Regions from separate parts of the Homo sapiens genome. Here region 1 is linked to region 2. Evidence: promoter capture Hi-C in 16 types of primary human blood cells and fetal thymus (Javierre and others, 2016). All regions are on one chromosome and are shown on one strand. Each heading gives the region's core, a stretch centred on a gene start or on the middle of the fragment in contact. The rest is flanking DNA. Distances are from core to core; before and after follow the strand shown. Region 1 has its middle 18 kb from the start of HOMER3. Region 2 holds the start of HAPLN4 (hyaluronan and proteoglycan link protein 4).

Region 1 (4,818 bases), core at 1,029-3,528, 300 kb after region 2:
GATCCACTCCTAGCAGGCTGTTGGATCGACGATCTTTGAGGATGCAGGTTGAGCGCTCAGCATATCACCGGCGCTCAATAAATGGCCTTGTTTCTTCCGTTTGTCTGGAACAGGAGATGCAGAAATAGGCAGTAGTGGCTGGCCATGATGGCTCACACTTGTAATTCCAACACTTTGGGAGGCTGAGGCGGGTGGATCACCTGAGGTCAGGAGTTCGAGACCAGCCTGGCCAACATGGTGAAATCCCGTCTCTACTAAAAATACAAACATTAACAGGGCATGGTTGTGCACGCCTGTAATCCCACCTACTAGGGAGGCCAAGGCAGGAGAATCGCTTGAACTCAGGAGGCGGAGGTTGCAGTGAGCCGAGATGGCGCAACTGCACTCCAGCCTGGGCAACAGTGAGACTCTGTCTCAAAAAAAAAAAAAAAAAGAGCCGGGCGCTGTGGCTCACGCCTGTAATCCCAGCACTTTGGGAGGCCAAGGCGGGCGGATCACGAGGTCAGGAGATCAAGACCATCCTGGCTAACACGGTGAAACCCCGTCTCTACTAAAAATACAAAAACAAAATTAGCCCGGTGTGGTGGCGGGCGCCTGTAGCCCCAGCTACTCGGGAGGCTGAGGCAGGAGAATGGCGTGAACCCGGGAGGCGGAGCTTGCAGTGAGCCGAGATCGCGCCACTGCACTCCAGCTTGGGAGACAGAGCGAGACTCCGTCTCAAAAAAAAAAAAAAAAAAAAATTATGCGGGCATGGTGGTGCATGCCTGTAATCCCAGCTACTCAGGAGGCTGAGGCAGGAGAATCACTTGAACCTGGGAGGCAGAGGTTGCAGTAAGCCGAGATCATGCCATTGCACTCCAGCCTTGTTGACAGAGCGAGACTCCGTCTCAAAAAAAGAGAAAGAAAGAAAAAAAGAAATAGGCAGTAGTTGGAGAGGGCTGGCTGAGGAAGAAGCCAGCAGGTTGGGCAGGGGCAGAAGCCGGCCCTGAACCTCAGTTTTCTTATCTGTAAAAGGGACCTTCAGGCCAGGTACAGTGACTCATGCCTGTAATCCCAGTGGTTTGGGAGGCTGAGGTGGGAAGATAGCTTGAGGCTCCCCTCACTGGACAGCTAGACACACTTCCCTGCTGGACATTCTAAATTAAATTAGCCCCCTAAAAATGTAAGACACAGGCTGAAGGGTGGGGTCCCATCTCTACCTTGCCTTCACTGGCTGCAGGTCTGAGTGCTCATGGATTTTCTTTTTTTTTTTTTTTTTGAGACGGAGTCTTGCTCTGTTGCCCAGACTAGAGTGCAATGGCACGATCTCGGCTCACTGCAACCTCCACCTCCCGGGTTCAAGCGATTCTCCTACCTCAGCCTCCTACGTAGCTGGGATTTCAGGTACGTGCCACCACGCCCGACTAATTTTTTGTATCTTTAGTGGTGATGGGGTTTCACCATGTTGGCCAGGCTGGTCTCAAACCCCTGATCTCAGGATCCATCCACCTCGGCCTCACAAAGTGCTGGGATTACAGGCACGAGCCACCGCGCCCGGACGGTCATGGGTTTTCTTGTCATTGGTGGTGTTTTGAAACAGAGCCTCACTCTGTCACACAGGCTGGAGTGCAGAGGTTGATCACGGCTCACTGCAGCCTTGATCCCAGGCTCAAGTGATTCTCCCACCTTAGTCTCCCAAGTAGCTGGGACTATCGGTGTGCGCCACCACACCCAACTAATTTTTTTATTTTTAGTAGAGATGGGATTTCACTATGATGGCCAGTCTGGTCTCAAACTACCAGGCTCAAGCAATCTGCCCGCCTCAGCCTCCCAAAGTGCTGGGATTACAGGCGTGAGCCTCGGCACCTGGCCCAGACAGTCTTTTATTTATTTATTTTCCGAGACAGGGTCTCACTGTGTCACCCAGGCTGGAGTACAGTGGCACAATCATGGCTCACTGCAGCCTCTAATTCCTGGGCTCAAGCGATCCTCCCACATCAGCCTCCTAAGAAGCTTGGACCACAGGCATGCACCACCATGCCTGGCTAATTTTATTTTATTTTTTGTAGAGATGGGTTTTGCCATGTTGCCCCAGACTGGTCTCAATCTCCTGGGCTCAAGTGATCCCCTGGCCCCAGCCTCCCAAAGTACTGGGATTACAAGCATGAGCCACGGCACCCAGCCAAATTGGGATTTATAAAAACCTTTGTCAAGAGAGTGTAGGCTGGGCACGGTGGCTCACCCTTGTAATCCCAGCACCTTTGAGAGGCCGAGGCAGGTGGATCACTTGAGGTCAGGAGTTCAAGACCAGCCTGATCAACATGGTGAAACCCTGTTACTACTAAAAATACAAAAATTAGCAGGGCATGGTGGCGCATGTCTGTAGCCCCAGCTACTCATGGGGGCTGAGACAGGAGAATCACTTGAACCCAACAGGCAGAGGTTGCAGTGAGCCGAGATTGTGCCCTGCACTCTAGCCTGGGTGACGGAGTGAGAAACTGTCTCAAGAAATTTAAAAAAAGGAGAGTTTAAATGCTGGCCAAGGACCAAGGAAACCAATCAAGGGGCCTCAGGGTTCAAGCTTTATGTTTGGGGACAATCTTAGGCCATAGGATGGGGTGACCTCCCTGCCAGCCTTGTAGCCTACTCACTTGAGGCTCAGCGGTCCCTCCCTCAGACAGGGACCTCCATTCTGTCACCTACGATGACACCTTCTTTTCTTGTGGGATCCACTGTTTGGAAACGTGTGTAATCAATCCCAGCACTTTGGGAGGCCAAGGAGGTGGGCGAAATCACCTGAGGTCGGGAGTTCAAGACCAGCCTGGCCAACATGGTGAAACCCCGTCTCTACTAAAAATACAAAAATTAGTCGGACATGGTCGTGCGTGCCTGTAGTCCCAGCTACTCATAAGGCAGAGGCGAGAGAATCGCTTGAACCTGGGAGACGGAGGTTGCAGTAAACCAAGATTGTGCCATTGCACTCCAGCCTAGATGACAGAGTGAGACTCTGTCTCAAAAAAACAAAAACAAAAACAAAAACTTTTTTTTGGTAGAGACAGGATCTTGCTGTGTTGCCCAGGCTGGTCTCGAACTCCTGGACTCAAGCGATCCTCCATCCTGGGCCTCCCAAAGTGCTGGGATTATAGGCACGAGGCGCCATGCCTGGTTTATGGCTTCTGATTTTAATCTACATCTTGCAAAGCAAATATCTCTAACATTCATTTGCAAATGTCAGACATTCAGAGAAATGGACACACTCACCCATCACTGCTGGGAGCCAAGTAAGGTCCCCTGTATGGAAGGTGATGTGGTCTTAAGTATTCATCAAAAATGCTGAAAAGCTGGGTTCAGGGATGAATGCCTGTAGTCCCAGCTACTCAGGAGACTGAGGTGGAAGAATCACTTGAATCCGGGAGTTCTGGGCTGTAGTGCACTATGCCAATTGGGTGACTACAGTAAGTTTGGTGTCAATATGGTGACCTCCCAGGGAGCGGGAGACCACCACCAGGTTGCCTAAGGAGAGGTGAACCGGCCCAGGTTGGAAACTGAGTAGGTAAAATTCTTGTGCTGATCAGTAGTGGGATCACACCTGTGAATAGCCACTGCACTCCAGACGGGCAACATACTGAGACCCCTGTCTCAAAAAAAAAAAAAAAAAGGAAAAGGAGAAGGAGAAAACTTGAAAACGTGTGTTTGGCTGGGCTCGGTGGCTCATGCCTGTAAACTCAACACTTTGGGAGGCCGAGGCCGGTGATCACTTGAGGTCAGGAATTTGAGACCAGCCTGGCCAACATGGTAAAACCCCATCTCTACTAAAAACACAAAACTTAGCCGGCCGTGGTGGTGGGTGCCTGTAGTCCCAGCTACTTGGGAGGCTGAGGCAGGAGAATCACTTGAACCCAGGAAGTGGAGGTTGCAGTGAGCCGAGATTGCGCCACTGTACTCCATCCTGGGCGACAGAGTGAGACTGTCTCAGAAAAAAAAAAAAAAAAAAGAAAATGTGTTATTCTATTTGTTAGGCTGTCCCCAGAGAGTGACCTAGATGTCCAACCATAGGAGATCTGTTTAACAAACCATAGAAAAGCTTCAAGGTGAGTGATGCTGAAGTCTCTGAACTCAAGAATGTACACTGGAATTTGGCCTTGACTGACAAATCATGTGTATAGTGTAATTCCATTTGGGCTAAGAAAAAAAAGAAAGAAAGAAAAAAAATCTAGATGGAAATAGACCATCGTGTTAGTAACAGTTATTTCTGGGCATTGATTTTATTTTTAAAATTTTGTTCACTCAACAGATATTTACAGAGCACCTGGTCCGTGTCAGCTAGGGCCAAGGGCAAGGATGGCATCTGAATTTGTTTACTTAGTTTGTTTCCTGTGCCAGCATTTTAAAATTTACCAATAAGCACCAGGCATAAAGTAAATAGGTATTAAAAATTCAGAAAGGAAATTAAACGCTATGACAAGGGACCTATTTAGATTATTTACGTTACACGTGTCTGTGCTTTCTAAAACTGTTTTTACAATGAGCATACATTATTTGGAGAATCAGAAAAGAGGCCGGCACGGTGGCTCATGCCTGTAATCCCAGCACTTTAGAAGACTGAGGCGGACAGATCATTTGAGGTCAGGAGTTCGAGACCAGCCTCGCCAACATAGTGAAACCCCGTCTCTACTAAAAAATACAAAAATTGGCTGGGTGTGGTGGCTCACGCCTGTAATCCCAGCACTTTGGAAGGCCGAGGTGGGCAGAAAATGAGGTCAGGAGTTCAAGACCAGCCTGACCAACATGGTGAAACCCCGTCTCTACTAAAAATACATAAAAAAAAAAAAATAGCTG
Region 2 (5,019 bases), core at 169-2,668:
CTCATCTTCCAGATGGGAAAACCGAGGCTCAGTATGGACAAGAGACCTGCCCAAGGTCATGGCCAGAGAGAAAAGTTCCTGCTCTACCAATAAATCATAACTAATAGCATGATACATTTATTAAGCACCTACTGTATACCTTGACTGCTACATGCTGGATCTCACTCCATATTCCAGATGGGGAAACCAAGGCTGCAGGAGGTGAAGGTCCTGGTCTGAGATCATTCCCCCGCTCAGTCCCCAAGGCATGGCTGAGCTAAGAGATGGAGCCCCAGCCTGTTGGACCACAGAAACCACAACTCTGCCTCTCCTATCTGGTCGGGTTGGGCTCATTTTAGGGGAAACTGAGTCCTGGAAGGAAGCCAAGGTGTTAGGAGAAAGACTCACTGTTTGCTATTGTTTGATTTTTTGAAATTGGGTGAAAGGCCAGGTTTAGGGGCGACTTGGGCCTGGAGTAAGTCAGGGACCTTGACCAGATGTCCCTTTTCCTTTTCTTTCTTTCTTTTTCTTTTTCTTTTTTTTTTTTTTTTTTGAGACGGAGTTTTCACTCTTGTTGCCCCGGCTGATATGCAATGGCACGATCTTGGCTCACCACAACCTCCACCTCCTGGGTTCAAGCAATTCTCCTGCCTCAGCCCCCTGAGTAGCTGGGATTACAGGCATGTGCCACCACACCTGGCTAATTTTGTATTTTTAGTAGAGACAGAGTTTCTCCATGTTGGTCAGGTTGGCCTCGCACTCCTGACCTCAGGTGATCCTCCCATCTTGGCCTCACAAAGTGCTGGGATTACAGACGTGAGCCACCGCGCCCGGCCTAGATGTCCCTTTTTCTTGCCCCTCCCAACCCCTACCGGAGATCTACTGTATGTCTAGCTACTGGATCTTCACCAAAGAGTCAGCAGCAGGCTCAGAGAGGCCAACTGTCTCCTCCAAGGTCTCACAGCCAGTGAGGGGCAGACTTGAATTGGGGCCTGTGGCTCCAGTCCACAGCAGAGTGTGACTATCGTGAGGCCCCCACCCTGCACAGGGAGCGCCTTTGGGGTGCTGGAGACCAGGACTCCACTATGACTACCCAATGGACAGGTGGCCTGCAGGCCAAATGATCTCTTTCACCAGATCCCCCAGGTCCCCTGCCAAAGCACAGTAACCAAGATAGAAGACTCAGCCCCCTCCTCCATTTCAAAGATGGTTAAACTGAGGCTCAGAGAGGTTCTTCCCTGGCCTAAGTTCAGCTAGCAGGGTGAGGGAACTAGCTCTGCACTCCAAGTCCAGAGCGCTTCTTTCTCCGCCCGCGCTCCAGCCACTGCTCCAGGGGAGCGTGGGCCCCCGCGGCCCCTTTAATACACCCCGCCTCGCCCGCCTTCCTCCTCCCCTTGCAGGCAGACGCCGGGATTGCGCCGCCTGCAGGGACCTGCCCAGTCTTAACCGGGTGTGCGGGGAGCGCAGTCCGGGTGCGTAGGGGCCGCTCGGCGGGGGCCGCGCGGGCAAGATGGTAAGTGGGGCTGCGGGCGCGGGTGGTGTGTGCCCCGTCTCCCCAATCTTGGATTCTATATCTCTCTGCCTCTGAATCTATATCCCTCTGAGTTTCTTCTGTCTCTTCCTTTTCTCTGTCTCTCACCCTCTTTGATCTCTCTTTTTGGCACTCTAGGTTCTCTCCCTCTCCATTTCTCCCTGCCTCTCTCCATCTCTGTCATCCTCTCTGCCTTTTTCCTCTCCTCTCCGTTTCTGTCTTTCCCTGTCCCTATCTCTCCCTCCTCTTCTCTGAGTCTCTCTGCCTCTGGCACTCTCCTGTCTCTCCCTCTCCCTTTCTGTCTCTCCCTCTCCCTCTCTGTCGCTCCCTCTGCCTCTCTGTCTCTCCCTCTGCCTCTCTGTCTCCCTCTGCCTCTCTGTCTCTCCCTCTCCATCTGTGTCTCTCCCTCTCCATCTCTGTCTCTTCCTCTGCCTCTCTCTCTCTCCCTCTGCTTCTCTGTCTCTTCCTCTCTGTCTCTCCCTTTCCATCTCTGTCTTTCCCTCTCCATCTCTGTATCTTCCTCTGCCCCTCTGTCTCTCCCTCTGCCTCTCTGTCTCTCCCTCTCCATCTCTGTCTCTCCCTCTACATCTGTCTCTTCTTTTCCATCTGTCTCTCCCTCTCCATCTCTGCCTCTCTCTCTTCCCTTCCCCTTTTTCTGTGTCGCGCACTCTCTTCTCTGCCTCTCCCTGCCTTTCTCTCTGTCCCTGTTCTCTCCCCGCGTCTCTCCCTCTTTCTCTCCAGCTCTCCCCCCTCCCTGCCCGCCCCGGCCCGGTTTGCTGCAGTCTCCTGGCGCACGGATAACCTTGCTGCCGCCGCTCCTCCAGCTCTTCCCCACCCCCCTATCCCCGGCCCGGGCCAGGGCCAGAAGGGGGCGGGGCAGCGAGCCTCGGGTTTTGGGGTGGGGGGGAATGAGGCGGGATCTGGGGCAGGACTGAGGGCGGGGGGGAGTCTAGGGGCGTGGGTTCTTGCAGAAGCTAGGATGTGAGGTCCCAAGAGGAGGAGGGGGAGTTCTCCAGGACCCCGGAAAGGGTGGGGACATGGGCGTGAGAGAGGTCCTCGCTGTGGGGAAGGCAGGCCCGGGAGGGAGCCAGGCCTCCGAAAAGCCAAGGCTGGGAGGCTGGACTGAGCGCCCCGTGCCCGCCCCCCAGGTGTGCGCTCGGGCGGCCCTCGGTCCCGGCGCGCTCTGGGCCGCGGCCTGGGGCGTCCTGCTGCTCACAGCCCCTGCGGGGGCGCAGCGTGGCCGGAAGAAGGTCGTGCACGTGCTGGGTGAGTCAGGGCCGCTAAAAGTGGTCTTCTCCGCGAAAAGCAGAAGTGGCCAAGTGCGGAGAGGGGTAGCGGGTAGGGCGTTCCTGACGTCCGCGGTTCCCCCAGCCACTCCCCATCTGAGCCCCTCGCCCTCTCCCTGAGCCCCTGGACCCTTCTGATTCCCCGACCCCCACCCGAGTCTTCCCACGTTCCCCTCCCCAGAGACACCTTCCCCAGAGGCCCCCTTCTGCCCCTAGGCCCCTCCTCTGAACCCTGCTTGGTTGTCCTCAGAGGGTGAGTCGGGCTCGGTAGTGGTACAGACAGCGCCTGGGCAGGTGGTAAGCCACCGTGGTGGCACCATCGTCTTGCCCTGCCGCTACCACTATGAGGCAGCCGCCCACGGTCACGACGGCGTCCGGCTCAAGTGGACAAAGGTGGTGGACCCGCTGGCCTTCACCGACGTCTTCGTGGCACTAGGCCCCCAGCACCGGGCATTCGGCAGCTACCGTGGGCGGGCTGAGCTGCAGGGCGACGGGCCTGGGGATGCCTCCCTGGTCCTCCGCAACGTCACGCTGCAAGACTACGGGCGCTATGAGTGCGAAGTCACCAATGAGCTGGAAGATGACGCTGGCATGGTCAAGCTGGACCTGGAAGGTGATCAGCCGGTGGGGAGGATAAACCTTGCTTCTGAGGAAGGAGGGGGGCGGGGATGGCAAGGGACATAAACCAAATCAAGTTGGCCTGCAGGCATTTAGAAGGTTGGTTGGGGTAGAGCCCCCATATCTGGTTCTGGGTGATTTTCCTCCCCAGGGACATTGGCGATGTCTGGAGATATTTTACGTTGTCACATCTGGAGAAGGCAGTTGCTACTAGCCCCTAGTGGGTAGAGGCCAGGGATGCAGCTATACATCCTACCAGGCACAGGATAGTCCCCCACAAGGAGTGATCCAGGCCGGGCATGGTGGCTCACGACTGTAATCCCAGCACTTTGGGAGGTTGAGGCAGGCGGATCACCTGAGGTCAGGAGTTCAAGACCAGCCTGGCCAACATGCCAAAACCCCATCTCTAGTAAAAATACAAAAATTAGCCAGGCATGGTGGTGCATTCCTGTAATTCTAGCTACTTGGGAGGCTGAGGCAGGAAAATCTCTTGAACCCGGGAGGTGGAGGTTGCGGTGAGTGGAGATCGTGCCACTGCACTCCAGCCTGGGCGACAGAGCGAGACTCCATCTCAAAAATAAATAAATAAATACATAAATAAAATAAAATAAAAGTGATCCAGTCCAAAATGTCCACAATGAGGACACTGAGAAGTCCTGGGATAGGATTCAGGCACAGTGAGATCCAGGCACTCACACCGTGTCAGGAACCATCCTTCTGCTCTGCTTCCCAGGTAGGCTTTCTTCCGACAGGCTTCTCTTTCTGGAACCAAGACCACAGTGCCTAGGCTTTCACTTCCCTGCTTAGCAACTGATTTCCTAGGAGCAGCAGCTAGAGTCCCAGAGTTGTCCCTCACTGGCTCAGCTTGAGTCATGTGCCCAACTGTGAGCCAATCACTGTAGCTGGAAGATGGGATGCTCTGATTGGCTCACCCTGGAGCTGGGAGGTGGGGTTTCTATTTGAAGAATTCCCTCCCATTTGATTGGCCTTTTCCAGTTCTCTTTAGAAGATTCTAGGTGAGATTTCAGGGCCCTTGCTTGCTGACCTCCCTAACAATAACAAATAACAACAATAATAGCAGCAGCTCTCCTTTACTGGACATTTTCTGTGGCAGGTGCTTAGTTGAAGAGTTCTCAGGAGTCTCTAATTTAATTTCCTAAAAACCCCAAGGGAGACAGCTATTACCAGCAGATGGACAACAGGCTCAGAGAGGTTAGAGCCTTGCCCAGGACAGTGCTAGTTGGTGGCAGAGACAGGATTCAATCCCCAGTCTGTCAGCTCCAGGCCTTCTCCCTGGACCCTGTCTGCCTCTTTCCAGGGTACCCCACTCACCCCCAACCCGCGTCCCTCAAACACAGACACACAAAATACTTGAGCTGAACGGACTGTGAGTCCAATGAGGGACAAGTTCCAAAGTCATCAGAACTGAAGGTAGAAGGGAACCCAGTGGGTACTCCCTTGGACAATGCTGGGGGAATCAAAGGGGTCTTCACCTAGGGCCAATCTTCCAGGGGGTCCTAGTCTAGGAGAGTCAGCACTGAACGCAGGCTCCGTGGGCTCAGGGCTGGACCAGAGGGAGGGACCCAGTACTGGCGGAATGTCAGA

What was found. The method cuts DNA at HindIII sites, captures the fragments that hold promoters and counts their contacts. A CHiCAGO score of 5 or more calls a contact.
Region 1: a contact is called between a fragment that was not itself captured here and the fragment with the promoter of HAPLN4 in region 2, in 1 of 17 cell types (erythroblasts). The highest score is 5.9, in erythroblasts.

Annotation. Positions count from the first base shown.
Region 1 is chr19:18,956,760-18,961,577 of GRCh38, reverse strand. It overlaps the pseudogene RN7SL70P. Among named protein-coding and RNA genes, the nearest start is that of HOMER3, 18 kb to the right of the region's middle. The HindIII fragment of the contact is 568 bases long and covers 1,995-2,562 here.
Region 2 is chr19:19,259,203-19,264,221 of GRCh38, reverse strand. HAPLN4 (hyaluronan and proteoglycan link protein 4) reads left to right here and starts at 1,418. Exons shown (of 5, transcript NM_023002.3): 1 at 1,418-1,492; 2 at 2,659-2,776; 3 at 3,047-3,409. The coding sequence starts at 1,490. The HindIII fragment of the contact is 10,345 bases long and covers 1-5,019 here.